2 separate regions of the Homo sapiens genome follow, and region 1 is linked to region 2. Evidence: promoter capture Hi-C in human tissues and cell types (Jung and others, 2019). All regions are on one chromosome and are shown on one strand. Each heading gives the region's core, a stretch centred on a gene start or on the middle of the fragment in contact. The rest is flanking DNA. Distances are from core to core; before and after follow the strand shown. Region 1 overlaps ZHX3 (zinc fingers and homeoboxes 3). Region 2 holds the start of LPIN3 (lipin 3).

Region 1 (5,349 bases), core at 1,057-3,556, 130 kb before region 2:
CTGAATACACCAATAACAGGTTCTGAAATTAAGGCAATAATCAATAGCCTACCAACCAAAAGAAGTCCAGGACCAGACAGATCCACAGCTGAATCTACCACAGGTACAAAGAGGAGCTGGTACTATTCCTTCTGAAACTATTCCAATCCACAGAAAAAGAGGGAATCCTCCCTAATTCATTTTATGAGGCCAACATCGTCCTGATACCAAAGCCTGGCAGAGACACAACAAAAAAAGAGAATTTTAGACCAATATCCCTGATGAACATCGATGCAAAAATCCTCAATAAAATACTGGCAAATCGAATCCAGCAGCACATCAAAAAGCTTATCTACCACGACCAAGTTGGCTTCATACCTGGGATGCAAGGCTGGTTCAACATATGCAAATCAATAAATGTAATCCATCATATAAACAGAACCAAAGACAAAAACCACATGATTATCTCAATAGATGCAGAAAAGGCCTTTGACAAAATTCAACAGCCCTTCATGCTAAAAACTCTCAATAAATTAGGTATTGATGGGACGTATCTCAAAATAATAAGAGCTATTTATGACAAACCCACAGCCAATATCATACTGAATGGGCAAAAACTGGAAGCATTCCCTTTGAAAACTGGCACAAGACAGGGATGCCCTCTCTCACCACTCCTATTAACATAGTGTTGGAAGTTCTGGCCAGGGCAATCAGGCAGGAGAAAGAAATAAAGGTTATTCGATTAGGAAAAGAGCAAGTCAAATTGTCCCTGTTTGCAGATGACATGATTGTATATTTAGAAAACCCCATCGTCTCAGCCTAAAATCTCCTTAAGCTGATAAGCAACTTCAGCAAAGTCTCAGGATACAAAATCAATGTGCAAAAATCACAAGCATTCCAATACACCAATAACAGACAAACAGAGAGCCAAATCATGAGTGAACTCCCATTCACGATTGCTTCAAAGAGAATAAAATACCTAGGAATCCAACTTACAAGGGATGTGAAGGACCTCTTCAAGGAGAACTACAAACCAGTGCTCAACGAAATAAGAGGACACAAACAAATGGAAGAACATTCCATGCTCATGGATAGGAAGAATCAATATTGTGAAAATGGCCATACTGCCCAAGGTAATTTATAGATTCAATGCCATCCCCATCAAGCTACCAATGACTTTCTTCACAGAATTGGAAAAAACTACTTTAAAGGTCATATGGAACAAAAAAAGAGCCCACATTGCCAAGACTATCCTAAGTCAAAAGAACAAACTTGGAGGCATCATGCTACTTGACTTCAAACTATACTATACTACAAGGCTACAGTAACCAAAACAGCATGGTACTGGTACCAAAACAGAGATGTAGACCAATGGAACAGAACAGAGCCCTCGGAAATAATACCACACATCTACAACCATGTGATCTTTGACAAACTTGACAAAAACAAGAAATGGGGAAAGGATTCCCTATTTAATAAATGGTGCTGGGAAAACTGGCTAGCCATATGCAGAAAGCTGAAACTGGATCCCTTCCTTACACCTTATACAAAAATTAATTCGAGATGGATTAAAGACTTAAATGTTAGACCTAAAACCATAAAAACCCTAGGAGAAAACCTAGGCAATACCATTCAGGACATAGGCATGGGCAAGGACTTCATGTCTAAAACACCAAAAGCAATGGCAACAAAAGACAAAATTGACAAATGGGATCTAATTAAACTAAAGAGCTTCTGCAAAGCGAAAGAAACCACCATCAGAGTGAACAGGCAACCTACAGAATGGGAGAAAATTTTTGCAATCTACCCATCTGACAAAGGGCTAATATCCAGAATCTACAAAGCACTTAAACAAATTTACAAGAAAAACATCAAAGAACCCCATCAACAAGTGCACAAAGGATATGAACAGACACTTCTCAAAAGAAGACATTTATGCAGCCAAAAGACACATGAAAAAATGCTCATCATCACTGGCCATCAGAGAAATGCAAATCAAAATCACAATGAGATACCATCTCACACCAGTTAGAATGGCGACCATTAAAATGTCAGGAAACAACAGGTGCTGGAGAGGATGTGGAGAAATAGGAACACTTTTACACTGTTGGTGGGACTGTAAACTAGTTCAACCATTGTGGAAGACAGTGTGGCCATTCGTCAAGGATCTAGAACTAGAAATACCATTTGACCCAGCCATCCCATTACTGGGCATATACCCAAAGGATTATAAATCATGCTGCTATAAAGACACATGCACACGTATGTTTATTGCGGCACTATTCACAATAGCAAAGACTTGGAACCAACCCAAATGTCCATCAATGATAGACTGGATTAAGAAAATGTGGCACATATACACCATGGAATACTATGCAGCCATAAAAAATGATGAGTTCATGTCCTTTGTAGGGACATGGATGAAGCTAGAAACCATCATTCTGAGCAAACTATCACAAGGACAGAAAACCAAACACCACATGTTCTCACTCATAGGTGGGAACTGAACAATGAGAATACTTGGACACAGGGTGGGGAACATCACACACCACGGCCTGTCGTGGGGTGGGGAGAGGGACAGCATTAGGAGATATACCTAATGTAAATGACAAGTTAACGAGTGCAGCACACCAACATGGCACATGTATACCTATGTAACAAACCTGCATGTTGTGCACATGTACCCTAAAACTTAAAGTATAATTTAAAAAAGAATTATAAGTAATCTTCACATATGCTTTTAAGTATTTTTTTAAAAGAAAGGAAAGAAGAAAGAAGAGGAAACCAGAAACAAATAATCATTACACTATCCAGACATTACATAACATCCCTTACCTGTGAATTTAGATGTATTGAACTTTTAATAAAATAGATTGACTTCACACTTTTAAAATGCTAAGAAAGAAAACAGCTAAGGCAGAAAACTAACCTGAAAACAAAACCAATGGTTTTATATATAAAAGACCGAAATTAAACAGTTGATAACTCAAAAAGAAATAATAATAATAATTGTTTCACAGGATGCCATGAGAAAAGGGATTCTGTGAGCCCTATTACTAATATAGAATGATAATCATCATTATTACTTTTCGTTTTAGCAAATCATAATGCTCTAATGACTAAAACAATAGTAATTCTAATACTAAAATCAAGTTATCAGTATTTGGATTTGATACAAAGATGTAAAGAAAATTAAAATATCTCTATTCAAATTCTCAGTAAATAAACACGGCTATTTTATGATGAAAATAATTTTTAAAACTTTGAAGGTGAGGGTAAACATAAACCCACTCTAACAACTTCTCACCCCTTCCCCCACCAATTTGAACTGGCATGCACACTTTTTTACTTAATTTTTAATTATAAAGATAAAATGTAATTTAAATAAATTTAATGTCTATAATTTGGTATACCTTCTCATTTAGTCCAGATATTTTATTCATATTTTTATCACAATGAGCACACATTTGTGCTTTTTTCACCAAACATTACGTTATAAACCTTTTTGTTACACAAGCTTCATAAGTTTAACATTTAATAGCTACCTAATAATGTACCACAATGAATTTGACTTATCCACCCCTGCTGTTGAAAAGCATGCCAATCTCATGGGTGACAGTGAAACAAACATCTCTGGGCATACAGGATGTTTTTCTTCTATCAAATTATTTCCTGAGGTTAAGTGCACAGGAATGGGCTTACCATCTCAAAGAGCATCAACATTTCTAAGCTCCTTTGTATATATCATTGGCAAACATTTTAAATCAAGTGCTTTATGATCCCAAATCAGGGAAACTAAAAATAATACAGTTATGGACCCAGTGAGCAAATCAGATTTTCAGACAAGTTATGGAAGACATCAAGTAGAATATCTGAAAGCACAAACGACAAAAGAAAAAACAGATAAATTGGATGTCATCAAAATTAAAAACTTGCATTCTTCAAAGGTCACCATCAAGAAAGTGAAAAGATAGACAATCCACAGAAAGAAAAGGTTTGCAAATCATCTATCTGGTAAAGTATATCCAGATTATATAAATAACTTACAACTCAACCATAGAAAGATAATTTTTAAACGGGTAAAGGATTTGAATAGACACTTCTCCAAAGAAGATATACAAATGGCCAGTAAAGCACATAAAAAACTGCTCAACATCATTAGTTATTAGGAAAACACAAATCAAAACCACAATGAGATACCACTTCACACCCACCAAGATGGCTGTAATTACAGCGACAGATAACAAGTATAGATGAGGATGCAGAGAAACTGGAGCCCTCACGTATTGCTGATGAAAATGTAAAATGGTATAGCCACTTTGGAAAACTGTTTGGCAAACAAAATGTTAAATATAGAGTTGCCATAAGATCCAGCAATTTGGCCGGGCGCAGTGGCTCACACCTGTAATCCTAGCACTTTGGGAGGCCAAGGCGGGCGGATCACCAGAGGTCAGGAGTTCAAGATCAGCCTGACCAACATGGAGAAACCCCATCTCTACTAAAAATGCTAAATTAGCCAGGCATGTTGGTGCATGACTGTAATCCCAGCTACTCAGGAGGCTGAGGCAGGAGAATTGCTTGAACCTGGGAGGCGGAGGTTGCAGTGAGCCAAGATCATGCCATTGTACTCCAGCCTGGGCAACAAGAGCTAAACTGTGTCTCAAAAAAAAAAAACCAAAAACAAAACAAAACAAAAAAAACAAAACACCAGCAATTTAATTCCTAAGTATATACACAGTATAAATAAAAACATGTCCACCCCAAAATATGTACACAAATGTTCACAGCAGCATTATTCAAATAATGGCCAAAAGGTGGAAACAACCCAAACATCTATCAGCTGGTGAATGGGTAAGTAAAATATGATATATCCATACGATGAATTCTTCAGCCATGAAAAGGAATGAAGTTCTGATGCATGCTGCAACATGGATGATCCTGATGCTAAGTGAAAGAAGTCAGACACAAATGTCACATACTGTATGATTCCCATTTATATGAAATATCCAGAAAAGGCAAATCCATAGAGGCAGATAGTAGATTAGTGGTTGCCAGGGACTGAGAGTAGGGGAGAAGGGGGAGTGGCTGCTAATGAGTCACCAGGCAATGAAAATTGTTCTGAAATTAGATAGTGGGGATGGCTGCACAACTCTGAATATGATAAAAACCTCAGGAAGGACATCGAAACCAAGAAAGGTAGAGGACAGTAAATTATAGCACTCAGTTCTATAGAAGAGGGTCAGCATTTACATTTCTAAGGTTTCAATATAGGTGACACAGTTCTGTGCTACTTCCTGACTCACCTTGGTAATATTTACTGTGGCCCTAGAGAAGCTGAATGGCAGTGCCTGTGAACATCAGGTTTGCCAG
Region 2 (5,160 bases), core at 1,194-3,693:
TCAGTGTTAGAACAAGTCATACTAGCAGAGGCTGTTCTATCTGCCTTTCTTCTCCTACCCTCATCACCAAATCCCAGATGATTGAGAGTTCCAGAAACGAGCCTGTCAGAAATGCAATTTTTCTTTTTCTTTTTTTTTTTTTTTGAGACAATGTCTTGCTCTGTCACCCAGGGTGGAGTACAGAGGCGCCATCTCAGCTCACTGCAACCTCCACCTCCTCGGTTCAAGTGATTCTCCTGCCTCAGCCTCCTGAGTAGCTGAGACTACAGCTGTGCACCACCATGCCTGGCTAATTTTTTTTTTTTTTGTATTTTTAATAGAGACGGGGGACCGAGCGCAGTGGCTAACGCCTGTAATCCCAACACTTTGGGAGGCTGAGGTGGGTGGATCACGAGGTCAGGAGATCGAGACCATCCTGGCTAACACAGTGAAACCCTGTCTCTACTAAAAATACAAAAAATTAGCTGGGCATGGGGATGGGCCCCTGTAGTCCCAGCTACTCAGGAGGCTGAGGCAGGAGAATGGCGTGAACCCGGAAAGTGGAGCTTGCAGTGAGCAGAGATGGTGCCACTGCACTCCAGCCTGAGTGACAGAGCGAGACTTCATCTCAAAACAAAAACAAAAACAAAAAAACAGAGATGGGGTTTCACCGTGTTGGCCAGGCTGGTCTCCAACTCCTGACCTCAGACGATCCGCCCACCTCTGCCTCCCAAAGTGCTGGGATTGCAGGCGTAAGCCACCTCACCCCAGCCGCAAATGCAATTTCTGCAACAACCTTTATATCAACTTTTTTTCCTCTAACAATGAACAATGAAAACAATTTGTGCTCCATCTTTAAAAATGTGTGACACAAAAATTTTTTAAATAAAAATAAATATGTGATAAACATTCCTGAATGCCTAGTGTGTGCCCTGGCGCTGTGCTCTGCATTTAATTTGGATCAGCAGTTCTCAGCCTTGTTTGTACATTACAACCAACTGGAGAGGTTTTTAAACTCCCAGTATCCGGGGCATCAGTATTCGTCTAGGGCACAGTGATTCTAACACACAGTCAAGGTTGAGAACCACTTATTTAATTCATCCTGTAAATCCTCACAATAGAATCCTGCAAGGTAGCTTTTATCACCACCTTTGCCGATGAAATTGAGGCTCAAAGAGGTAAATTGATTTCGGCATCTGTAGCCCCAACCTGTGACCTCTCCTTCCTTCCTTCTCGGGCTCCCTTCAGGGATTTCCTGATGTTACAGAAAATGGTATGTATGACGCTGCCCTCCTGGCCACCTTGACATAGCTCTGCTCCCAACAGGGCTCTTCTGAGATAGCAGCCAGACACTACCTGGGATCAGGACTGATACTAAATGACTTCTGCCAAAATGAGGACAACTGAGGCCAGTCACTTCCAAACAGGTTCTGTCACCCTGAGTCAGAATAATGGCAGCTACCTCTCCTCCTCACCGCCCAGTCGTTTCTAAGCCTGGCTCGTCGCCGTTGCTGCTCCGCCAAGCCTTTCCTCGGTGCCCTCTCTCTTTTAGAACAAATTACTTCATCTCCAGGCCCTTCTCAGGGCAGCTTCTTTGCAGGGGCCATAGGGCGTCGGAAAGGTCTTTGGTCCAGGAAAGCCGCGAGCCACAGATCCAAGAGGAAAAAGCCGTTCCCGGCCCGGGCCTTGCCCAAGGCACGAGAGTAAATGCACCTTCCGCGTGCCTCGGCGCACCTGGGCTCACCTGTCCCCTCCCGCAGTGCCTGCAGACAGGGAGGGAGCGCGGCTGGGCCAGAAGGCTGATCACCGCCTGCCCCCTGCTGGCCAGTGTCAGTATTGAGCCCGCTGCCGCTCGACCAGAACGTCCCAGGGATGGAATGAAGGTGCGGGCATTTATGGAGCGCCTGCTGTTTGTCAGGCGAGGTACTGATAAGCGCTGGAGTGTAAGGATGTACGTGACCTGCTCTCAGAGTTCAAATTTAAATGAAGAGATATACATTAATCAAGTAGTCATTCAAGCAAATATGAAATTACAACTGTGGGCTATGCGAACAGATGACGCGAGGGGCCTGTCCAGTCTGGGAGATACGGGTGGGTTCAGGAAAAGCTGCCCCCAGGAGGGGACGTTTGAGCGCCAGGAGCCGCGCAAAGTCATTTCATGTCATCTCTAAAATCCTGCAAGGCGGCTTTCCCCCTTGACAAAACAGGAAATGGGATCAAATTGAGGAAGGAATTCACCCAAGATCACACAGCAAGCTGGAAGCAAATCTGGGAGGAGCTAGGTCCGCCCCGTTCCGAAATCCACACTTTTCTGGAGGTGGGGCAGGCGGTGGCACAGGGACTTGGGGCGGGGTCTGGTGGGCGGGGCATGAAGTCTGGCCCCGCCCCCGCCTCCGAGGCCAAAGGGCGCCCTGGGCGGGGATCGGAGCAGGGGCGGGGTCTTTCCAGGGAGTGGAGCCTGGGCAGATTGGGGCCTGTGGAGGCCGCACTAGGATCGTAGAAGGAGTGGAGCCGTGCTCTCACCCTGTCTTAGAGGACCCGGAAGCGCCAAGTGACTGAGGGCCGAAGACACTCACCTGTGGAGCCTGTGCACGTAGGTAGAGGCGGCGGCTCTGAGTCCAGGAGCTCCAGTGGGCAGCTCCCCAGGTAGGGCCCAACTCGGGGGGAGAAGAGATGACCCTCTCCCCTCCCGCCCTGCCCATCTGTCCTGCCATCCTACATTCCTTCCTTCCTGTCCGCGGGCCTGGGTCCACCCCTAGCTGTAAGATGGGGACGCAGGGGTGGAGGGACTGGCCTCATTTTGTCCCTTTTTCCCTGGCCCAGCGGCTGCAGGCCCCCTGGACACCCAGAACGTAGAGTCTGGAGAGGAGACGTCGAAACCTCCCAGGGGAGGCTGGCCCAGCTTTACCCCAGCCTGACTGTGTGACCTTGAGGAGGACAGCCACTTTCTCTGGTACCCAGTGTCCTCAGTTGCAAAACAGTGACTGGCCCTTGCCCTGCTTGCCCTGAGACTGGGCAGATCAGATGCTGTAGCTGCTGGGGGCTGGGGTGGCGCTTTCTCTCTACTGGGGCACTAGGAGTGCTTACTCTCCTGCTCCCTCTGGTCCTCGGTGGAGAGCCACACCCTTCATCCACCCAAACCTGGGAGCCCCGAGGGCTGAGAGCCTAGTCCTAGGGCAGCTTGCTCTGGCTTCCCTGTGCTAGAGTTGTAGTCTAGCCTGGAAGGCCTGTGAACATCCCCAAGGTGGGGTGTGAGGCCTACGTGGAGTGCACATGCTCGTTTTGCAAATAGTGGTGCCACCATTGTGCATGGCCTTGAGTGCCAAGTTAAGAAGTCCAAACTCCGCTGGGCGCGGTGGCTCACGCCTGTAATCCCAGCACTTTGGAGACTGAGGCGGGTGGATCATGAGGTCAGGAGATCGAGACCATCCTAACACGGTGAAACCCCGTCTCCACTAAAAATACAAAAAATTAGCCGGGTGTGGTGGCACACGCCTGTAGTCCCAGCTACTCGGGAGGCTGAGGCAGGAGAATTGCTTGAACCCAGCAGGCGGAGCTTGCAGTGAGCCAAAATCATGCCACCGCACTCCAGTCTGGGTGACAGGGCAAGACTCCATCTCAAAAAAATAAATAAATAAAAGAAGTCCAAACTCTCAACTGCTGGCAGGGGCAGTTCATCAGAGTATGACCTGCAGTGCCCACAGGACCAGCCTGCATGAGTGGGGCTGTCATGATGCTGCTGCTGATAGGTGTACATACAGGTTTTTATTGCATTCCAGGGCTTTACACAAAGTCATTAGTTACTCACACGTGCCTGATGTTATTCCCATTTTGGAGGCTGAGACTGAGGGTCAGAGAGATGAAGTCACTTGCCCATGGTCACAGCTAGCAAATGGCGGAGTGGGGATCAGCACCCAGATAATCTGGTGCCTTTTCTCCTAATGTCCTGTGGCCACCCGTGATCTGGGCATCTGGTTATAAAGTCTTAACCTAGGACAGCTGGAGAAAGGAGGGGCTGGATGAGCAGGAAATTGGGGGAGAAGATTCAGAGGGCTAGGGAGGGAGAGAGGGGTAGTGACTAGTCCTAAGGGGTATTCGGCTTCCTGGGAAGGTGTGAGGAGTGAAGTGGCTGATTTTAGACATGTTAGTTTGTGGGTGGAGGGTGATAGAGGGGAGCCAAGCAGAGCTCTCCTCTGTCTGGAAAAGAACAAGGAGGTAGAGCTGGGTCCTGGGAAAAGGGGGTGCCTAAGGGATAGGTGAAGACAGAGGCGGGCTCACAGAAGGCCCCCAAAATGCTGAGCAGGCAGATGTGGGGGGGCTCACTGGAAGCCCCCAAAATGCTGAGCAGGCAGATGTGGGGGGCTCACAGAAGGCCCCCAAAATGCCGAGCAGGCAGATGTGGGGGACATCCATTGGTGAAGTGGGGGGAACAGAGAGAGGAGAGAATTCTGGACTCCCGTGACATTAGATCTGAGGGAGATGGGTCTAAAAAACTGAGGCCTTGGTTCACAGAAGGGGAAACTGAGGCCAGCCAGTTACTTGCCTGAGAATACTCCAGGGCTGGATCCGAGTAGGACCCCGGGTGCCATCTCTGCTATTCGGCCCTTTCTACTAGATCGTGGTTCTCAGCTGGGGGCAATTTTGTCCCCCAGGAGACATTTAAAAATGTCTGAAGACAATTTGGCTGTCACAACCTGGAGCTGCGGGGGATGAAGTGCTACTGGCATCTAATGGGCAGAGACCAGGGATGCTGCTGAATATCCTACAGTGCACCCACCCACCCCCCAGCAAAGAATTATCTGGCCCCAAAGGACAGTAATGCTGAAGCTGAGAAACTGCACTAGGGCTTAATAGGGCAGAAAGCTCAGGCTTGGGCCTCCAGCTGGATGGACCTTTGCCCCAACCCCGGCTCTGCCCCTCCCCATGCTTGCTCCTTAATTCCTGGAAGCCTCTGGAGTCCTCTCTGCTTTTCCTGGGCACAGTGGTTTAGAGGTCTGCCCACCAAGTGTCTGTCACCACTCTGTCTCCCCAGACCTGTATTCAGAGTTTGGCATTAGGTAGGGAGAAACCAAAGTGGAAATGTCCCATCTAGCACATGGCAGGTGCCTTGCAGATAAACTTGATTTGAGTGACATCTTAGGGGTCCAGGGAGTTTCATTTCATCCCATTTTCACTTTGGCA

Evidence for each region. The method cuts DNA at HindIII sites, captures the fragments that hold promoters and counts their contacts. A contact is called where the count stands out against the background at its distance.
Region 1: a contact is called between a fragment that was not itself captured here and the fragment with the promoter of LPIN3 in region 2, in 2 of the 25 tissues and cell types used here (dorsolateral prefrontal cortex and hippocampus).

What each region holds. Positions count from the first base shown.
Region 1 is chr20:41,208,157-41,213,505 of GRCh38, forward strand. All of the region lies in intron 2 of ZHX3 (zinc fingers and homeoboxes 3), which reads right to left. Among named protein-coding and RNA genes, the nearest start is that of MIR6871, 42 kb to the left of the region's middle. The HindIII fragment of the contact is 5,390 bases long and covers 1-5,001 here.
Region 2 is chr20:41,338,378-41,343,537 of GRCh38, forward strand. LPIN3 (lipin 3) reads left to right here and starts at 2,444. Exons shown (of 20, transcript NM_022896.3): 1 at 2,444-2,625. RefSeq lists an enhancer at 2,056-2,105 and a silencer at 2,266-2,425. The HindIII fragment of the contact is 17,326 bases long and covers 1-5,160 here.